Regions from separate parts of the Homo sapiens genome. Here region 2 is linked to region 1. The links are contacts of gene promoters, found by promoter capture Hi-C in human tissues and cell types (Jung and others, 2019). All regions are on one chromosome and are shown on one strand. The core of a region is centred on a gene start or on the middle of the fragment in contact, and the rest is flanking DNA. Distances in the headings are between cores, read along the strand shown. Region 1 holds the start of GSTM1 (glutathione S-transferase mu 1). Region 2 overlaps SORT1 (sortilin 1).

What was found. Contacts are between HindIII fragments. The study calls those that stand out against the background at their distance.
Region 2: a contact is called between a fragment that was not itself captured here and the fragment with the promoter of GSTM1 in region 1, in 1 of the 25 tissues and cell types used here (adrenal gland).

Annotation. Positions count from the first base shown.
Region 1 is chr1:109,685,993-109,689,906 of GRCh38, reverse strand. It overlaps GSTM1 (glutathione S-transferase mu 1), which reads right to left and starts at 2,090. Exons shown (of 8, transcript NM_000561.4): 1 at 1,998-2,090; 2 at 1,662-1,737; 3 at 1,170-1,234; 4 at 778-859; 5 at 582-682. The coding sequence starts at 2,033. RefSeq lists an enhancer at 1,991-2,040. The HindIII fragment of the contact is 14,943 bases long and covers 1-3,914 here.
Region 2 is chr1:109,373,551-109,377,464 of GRCh38, reverse strand. The region is part of intron 1 of SORT1 (sortilin 1); the gene reads left to right. Among named protein-coding and RNA genes, the nearest start is that of SORT1, 22 kb to the left of the region's middle. The HindIII fragment of the contact is 7,210 bases long and covers 1-3,914 here.

The DNA of each region.
Region 1 (3,914 bases), core at 841-3,340:
AAAGTTCCTTCTAATGGGGTGGCAGAAGAAAACAATGAACATTGACTAGTTTCCAGGGAGATGAGAAGTTCAAGTTGAAAGGAAGGAGGGAGAGGAATAAAGGCCCTCTGACTGCCTCTGAGCTGTCTGTTATGAAAATGCGCAGATCCCTGTGCATGTCAATGACAGCACTCAGAAAACTGTTGAGGAGAAGATGCAATTCGAGGGTGCCATTACATTCCTGAGTCTTCTACTTGAGTCTGCATATTCTAGGAGCAGGCAGGTGATGTGAACTGGCTGACAGAAATGACCCAGGACAGAAGTCAGAGGCCAGAGCTGATGAAGGAGATTCTGAACACAAACTTTACCATACAGGAACTGAATTTCTACCCTGGGATGCCTGGATCGTGTCCTAAGGTTGGTGGGAATTGCCTCTGCTTTTGTTGACATGACATTGGAGTCGTGAGAATAACTGCTGATAGTATGGGAAAGCACTTGGAGGATGAATGGTACCAGGGACTTAAGACCAGTGTGTGCAGGAATGCAAGAGTCCTGGCCCCAAATCCAAACTCTGTCAGATGCAGCTCACTGGGGACACTCACAAATTCTGGATTGTAGCAGATCATGCCCAGCTGCATATGGTTGTCCATGGTCTGGTTCTCCAAAATGTCCACACGAATCTTCTCCTCTTCTGTCTCCCCACCTGCCACCCACAAAACACAGACTCAATCTCAGCATCACAGCCCAGCCAAGGAGGAGGCCACCTTCCCCCCACACATTGCAGCCACCCACACTCACACAGGTTGTGCTTGCGGGCAATGTAGCACAAGATGGCGTTGCTCTGGGTGATCTTGTGAGCCCCATCAATCAAGTAGGGCAGCTGGATGGATGGGAAACCGGCGAAGCTCAGTTGGGCCACCAGGCTCCCCAGCATCCCCTTCCCATAAGCAAGAGCAGAGAGGAGACCGGGCACTCACTGTGCCTGCTCATGGCAGGACTGAAATAAGAATACTGTCACATGAACGAATGCAGGTGGACACAGAACATCATGGAAGGACTGTTTAGACAGCCAGGAGTGAGAGGAATTGGGCAGAAGACTCCTGATCTTAACACCTCTAAGCTGGGGAGAGGAGATGCAGTCAGAGACACGTTGCACTTTCCCCCAAAACCGCCCCTTCCCCTGCACCTACATTGGGAAAGTCCAGGCCCAGCTTGAATTTTTCATTCAGCCACTGGCTTCTGTCATAATCAGGAGCTGTGGTGGGGAAGAAGAAGTGAAAACAAACCTCCCCAGAGCCCAGCCCTCCTTCCCGGGGACCCTCCCACGGAGCCAGTGGCAAGATCCCTGAGACAGGTGGATCTAGAATCTGACCACTCAGTCCCACATCCCAGGGTTCAGGGACAAAGAATCCCGCTGAGGGCTCTGGACCCCACACAGCTAAGGCTTCCAGGGTTTAGGCAAGCCCTGAGGGACACCCGTCCCAATTAGACAGGGGGCCCAGCATCCCACCCCAGCATTCTGCCTTGCAAGGCCAGAGGGCTCCCTCACCGGGGCTCAGGGAAGAGACAGCCTGCAGCTCCAGCAGGGGAGGCCTGCAGAGGCAGCCACAGGTGGCCACCATGGGTTGCTTGGTGCCAACTTAGCGTGAGTGGGCAGAGCCCGAACACGAGGGTGCCATTACCGTCCCCCATCGTGTACTTCTTTTCCTCATAGCTTGAGTCTGTGTATTCCAGGAGCAGGCGGATGGCGTGGGCCAGCTGGGAGAGATGGCCCGCAGGTCGCGTCAGAGATGGAGGGTCCCTGACTTTGTCTGCACCAGGGAAGCCCCCAGTTTACACTGCACGTACCCGTTGCCTCCTCTACCCGCCCACACCCCCAACACACACACAGCGGCATGCACAGGCCCTTCTGAGGCGGGCAGCCCTGAAGAGGAACGGTCCCTAGAGTCCGTCCCGCAGCTGCTTCGCACTTCCCTCCCCTGCGCCCTCGTCCCACCGTCCAGCGGACCCTCGCTCACCCCGCGGATGTCCCAGTACCCCAGTATCATGGGCATGGTGCTGGTTGGTGCGGATTCCGCAGACAGGCCTAAACCGAGCAGGGCTCAGAGTATAAGAGCTCCGGAGAGGGGACAGGCGGGGCCTTGCTGCGACCCCGCCCCTCGGCCCGCCACAACCCGAAAGGCGCCATTCTGGAGGCCCGGGAGAGGGCGCCTGGGGCTGCACTCAGTAAGACTTCCTCCCGCCTCCCAGGCCCGAGGGTTCCGGGAGCGAAGTCAGGGCGCCCAGAAGCCCAAGGCGGGGCTCGGCCTCGCCAGCTTCCCTACCCAGCCCTGAGGCTCCACGAGTCCATCCAGCCCTTGCTAGGTCCACAGCGACTTGGCTGTGCGCTTGAGACACCAGCCAGATCCTAACGGAGCAAAGCTCTTCTCCCTTCTCCTCCCTGCCCGCGGTGTCCCTCAGCCTTCTCTCCGCTGCCGAGTTCCCAAGGGCTCTGGGAGACTCCGGCTGCAGGGGTCAGACTAAAAAGTGGTGGCCCCAACCTGGGAATTTAATTCAGCCCCTGTCACTGTAAGAGCAGGACTTCCTCTGATCCGAAAGCTACTCCCAGGGCTTAGTCTCCCCTCTAGCCCCGCCTACACAGGAACAGTGTCAGTGGTATAGGAAGGACCCCCAGGAAAAGGGCCAGAGTAAAGGAAATGTGGTCTGTGTTTTCTGTTAGGGGCCCTCGGGTACTGAGTCCTTCGGTCATCTGGCTAAGTACTGTGTAAATTAGCCACTTCGTATTTTGGCACAATTTATGAATCGAAATCCAAGGATCAGATCCAGCAAGTTGGTGAGGTATCTGAGGTGCCCCCTAGAAATGTCCAGCCAGTCCACTAGGTGAACCTCACAGAGACCGGAACAGCAACAGCAACAGTGAGTGCAGTGGCCACAGAGAGCAGGCGAGGGAGGATGGAAGAACTTCCCGGACCAAACTGAGGGTCCGGCTGCTATTTCTCTAGGCCCAATAACGAGATGCAGATCAAATGGGGAGGAAGAGAGGTTTTATTTCTGCAACCGGTAACAGGGAGAAGGCCTAGAAATTACCACCAGACCAACTCAATATTACAAAGTTTTCCAGAGCATATATACCTTCTAAGGTATATGTCTACAAGTAAGTGTGCATTCATCTAAAGACATAAGTGATTAACTTCTTTAATCTGTAACTGAGGTCTGGGTCCTGAGGACCTTATTCTGGAGCCTCAGTCTATTTATTTAATCTAAATGGGTCCAGGTGCGGGGGATGATTACCCTTATCTTGTCTCCTGCTAAATCACGGAGGTTTGGGGAGTTCCTTCAGACGCCCAATAAACTTGTTTGTGGAGGCCTGGGGAGTTTCTTCAGACTCACAATAAAACTTGTTTAATTCTAAATAGGTCCTGTTAAGAATTCCTTCATTGTTTTGTCATGCTTTAAGGCCCAGGAAAGGCCTAAGCAAAACTCTTGGTGGGCTTTTGTTACATCCAGCCTCTGTATAAAGGTACTGGCTTTTTTCAGCTTTTAATATTTAACTTCACCACTCAGTCAGTACTGAAACAGTTGTTATGGAGGCCTGTGTTAGTGACGCCTGGCCTGCCACAGAACCTGTCCCTCAGAGAAGCCAGAACCCTGTCCTGCTGAGGAGGGAGGTCAGAGGATGGTGGCCAGAGAGGAGCCTGAGGGCTCCCCACAGGACCACAGGCAGGGACCCTCCCCTCTCCAGATCCACCATTCCGGACCTGGACCTGGCTCCTGACCCATGTGTGTTCTTCAGTATGAGACGGTGGCTCCAGTGGCCTTTGAAGTCACACCGTGATATGTGACCCATGGTACAACCTCCACGAGAACAATGTCCAACCTGCCAACTTTCTTCTTTCAAGGTAGAAGGAAGACTTTCAAAAGAGTTGTGCAATGGA
Region 2 (3,914 bases), core at 844-3,343, 310 kb after region 1:
CTGAGACAGCAGTAACCGTGTTAGAAGGAAGATTACATACAGATCAATAATGTTAGTTCAGGACAAACAGCTATCATGAGTTAAAAAAAATACTAAGAAAAAGAAATAATGTTAGTAGCAGGAGTTTGTGATAGACTTTTACAGAGATGTTTGTGGAGCATCTAATAAATATAAGACCTTGTGCTAGGCCTGATGGGTAATACCAAATTATAGCGTCTGCCATTAAGAATTTATAGCATAATTTGAGAGGAAGACAAATATGTAAATAGTTCTACATGTATAGTTTACATGTACATATAGTTTACATTTATATATAAATATAAATAGTTATAGTACCAGGAGTGTCTGTGAATGCTGTGAGGATAATGCTTAGGAAGAGGAGATCACTTTGAGCTGTGATAATTACAAACCAGAATGGTTGGTTTTACAGTGAAAGATGGGACTTAGGCTGTCTTTCAGATCTTTTTCACTGGTATAGTCTGTCCCCTGTGGCTGTCAAAAAGAAACACCCACAATAGAATGCTGAGGAGCAATGGACAAGTGCAGAAACACAGAACTTTTCCTTTTTGAAAGTTGCATTTTTCAACTTTTAGATTTAGGGGTACATGTGCAGGTTTGTTACCTGGGTATATTGTGCGATGCTGGGATACAAATGATCCCATCACTCAGGTAGTGAACATAGTACCCAAAAGTTAGTTTACCAGTACTCACCTGCGTCCCTCCTCTAATAATCCCGTTTCTGTTGTTGCCATCTTTATGTCCATGAGTACCCAGTGTTTACCTCCCAATATAAGTGAGAGCATGTGGTATTTGGTTTTCTGTTTCTGTGTTAATTTACTGAGGGTAATGGCCTCCATGTGCATCCATGTTGCTGCAAGGGACATGATATCATTCATTTTATGGCTCCATAGTATTACATGGTGTATATAGACCATATTTTCTTTATCCAATCCACTGCTGATGGGCACCTAGGTTGATTCCATGTCTTTGCTATTGTAAATAGAGCTATAATTAACATAGTGCATGTGTCTTTTTGGTAGAATGATTTGTTTTCTTTTGGATATATACCCAGTAACAGGATTGCTGGGTCAGATCATAGTTCTCTTTTAAGTTCCTTTTTTTTTTTTTTTTTTTGAGATGGAGTCTCCCTCTGTTGCCCAGGCTGGAATGCGGTGGCGCGATCACGGCTCACTGCAAGCTCCGCCTCCCGGGTTCACGCCATTCTCCTGCCTCAGCCTCTCCGAGTAGCTGGGACTACAGGCGCCCGCCGCCACGCCCGGCTAATTTTTTGTATTTTTAGTAGAGACGGGGTTTCACCGTAGTCTCGATCTCCTGACCTCGTGATCCGCCCGCCTCGGCCTCCCAAAGTGCTGGGATTACAAGCGTGAGCCACCACGCCCGGCCCTTTAAGTTCTTTGAGAAATCTCCAAATCGCTTTTCACAGGGGCTGAACATTCCCTCCAACAGTGTATAAACACTCCCTTTTCTCCACAGCCTCACCAGTATCTGTTTTTGTGTGTGTGTGTGTGATGTTTTAGTAATAGTCATTCTTTCTAGTATGAGATGGTATCTCATTGTGAAACCTGCATTTTTGAAAAATAGTTTCACTTGCTATAGAATTACAGCTTGACTGTTTTTTTGCCAGTACTTTAAATATGTTACTCCACTGTCTGGCTTGCATTGTAGGAAGAGTCGGCTATCATTCTTTGTTTCTCTGTATGTAATGTCATCTTTTTTGTGGATGCTTTTAAGATTTTTCTCTATTGCTGATTTTAGATTATTTGACTATGATATGATGTGCTTTGGTGTATTTTTCATCGTGTTTCTTGAGCTTAGGGTTTCTGAGCTTCTTGGATCTCTGGGTTTATCCTTTTCATCACATTTGGGGAAATTTTGGCTATTATATCTTTTTTTTTTTTTTTTGAAACGGAGTCTCACTGTCGCCCAGGCTGGAGTGCAGTGGCGCGATCTCGGCTCACTGCAGGCACCGCCCCCTGGGGTTCACGCCATTCTCCTGCCTCAGCCTCCCGCGTAGCTGGTACTACAGGCGCCCGCCACCTCGCCCGGCGAATTTTTTGTATTTTTAGTAGAGACGGGGATGGTCTTGATCTCCTGACCTCGTGATCTGCCCGCCTTGGCCTCCCAAAGTGCTGGGATTACAGGCGTGAGCCACCGTGGCTATTATATCTTAACTTTTTTTTCTGTCTCCAGCCCAGCCTCCTCTAGATGCCCTGATTGCATATATAATCAGCTGCTTGAAGTTGTTCTACTTCAAAAAGAATGAACAGAGCCATCGCTGAGCTGTAGAACAACTTTAAGAACATTTGTAGAAATTGTAGAACATCTTCTGAATTGATAGCTCTGTTCATTTTTTGTCTTTTTTTATCTCTGTGTTTCACTTTGGATAGTTTCTGTTGGTATGGCTTCAGGTTCACACTCACCTCTTCTACAGTGTCTAATCTCCTGTTCAGCCTATCCAGTGTTTGTTTTTTTGTTTGTTTGTTTTTGAGACGGAGTCTCACTCTGTCACTCAGGTGGAGTTCAGTCGTGCAATCTTGGCTCAATACAGCCTCCACCTCCCAGGTTCAAGCGATTCTCCTGCCTCAGCCTTCTGAGTAGCTGGGACTACAGGTGTATGTCACCACGCCTGGCTAGTTTTTGTATTTTTAGTAGAGACAAGTTTTCACCATGTTGGTGAGGCTGGTCTCAAACTTCTGAACTCAGGTGATCTGCCCGCCTCAGTCTCCCAAAGTGCTGGGATTACAGGCATGAGCCACAGCACCCTATCCAGTGTACTTTTCATTTCAGTCATTGTAATACTCATTTCTACAAGTCTAATTTAAGTCTTTTTCTTTTCTTTCTTTCTTTTTTTTTTTGAGACGGTGTTTTCTTGTCACCCAAGCTGTAGTGCAATGGTCCAATCTCTGCTCACTGCAACCTCTGCCTCCTGGATTCAAGTGATTCTCCTCCCTCAGCCTCTTGAGTAGCTGGGATTACAGGTGCCCACCACCACACTTGGCTAATTTTTAGTATTTTAGTAATTTTCGTATTTTTAGTGGAGACGGGATTTTACCATGTTGGCCAGGCTGGTCTCGAACTCTTGACCTCAAGTGATCCGCCCACCTTGGCCTCCCAAAATGCTGGGATTATAGGCATGAGCCACTGGGTCTTTAAAAAATTTTAAGTCTTTAAAAAAATTTTTTTTCTTTAACATTCTCAATCCATTCTCTAATTTCTTGTGGAGTACAGTTACAACTGTTGCAATGTCCTTATCTACTAATTATCTTGTTATTTCTGAGTTAGTTTGATTTTTCTCTTCATTATGGGTCCTGATTTCTTCTTTGCGTGCCTGGTTATTTTTAAAAATTTATTTTAAGAGACAGGGTCTTGCTCTGTTGCTCAGGCTGGAGTGCAGTGGTATGATCATAGCTCACTGTAGCCTCAAACTCCTGGGCTCAAGAGATCCTCCTGCCTCAGCCTCCCAAGTAGCGAGGGCTACAAGCATGTGCCACCATGCCTAGCTGATTTTTTTAAATTGTTTTTGTGGAAATGGGGGTCTTGCTACATTGCCCAGGCTGGCTTTGAACTCCTGGCCTCAAGTGATCCTCCCACCTCGGCCTCCCAAAGGGCTGGGATTATAGACATAAGCTACTGCACCTACCCACCTGATGATTTTTCAGTTGGATATTGTGAGTCTTAGCTTGTTGGGTGCTAGATATTTTTGTATTCTTTTAAATATTCTTGAACTTTGTTCTGGAACACTGGTTACTTGGAAACAGTTTGATCCTTTTGGGTCTTGCTTTTAAGCATTTTTAGGCGGGACCGGCACAGCGTTAAGTCTGGGGTTATTTTTCTTTACCACAGAGGTAAATGTTTCTGAGTACTCTACCCAATTTCCTTGAAATAACGAGGTT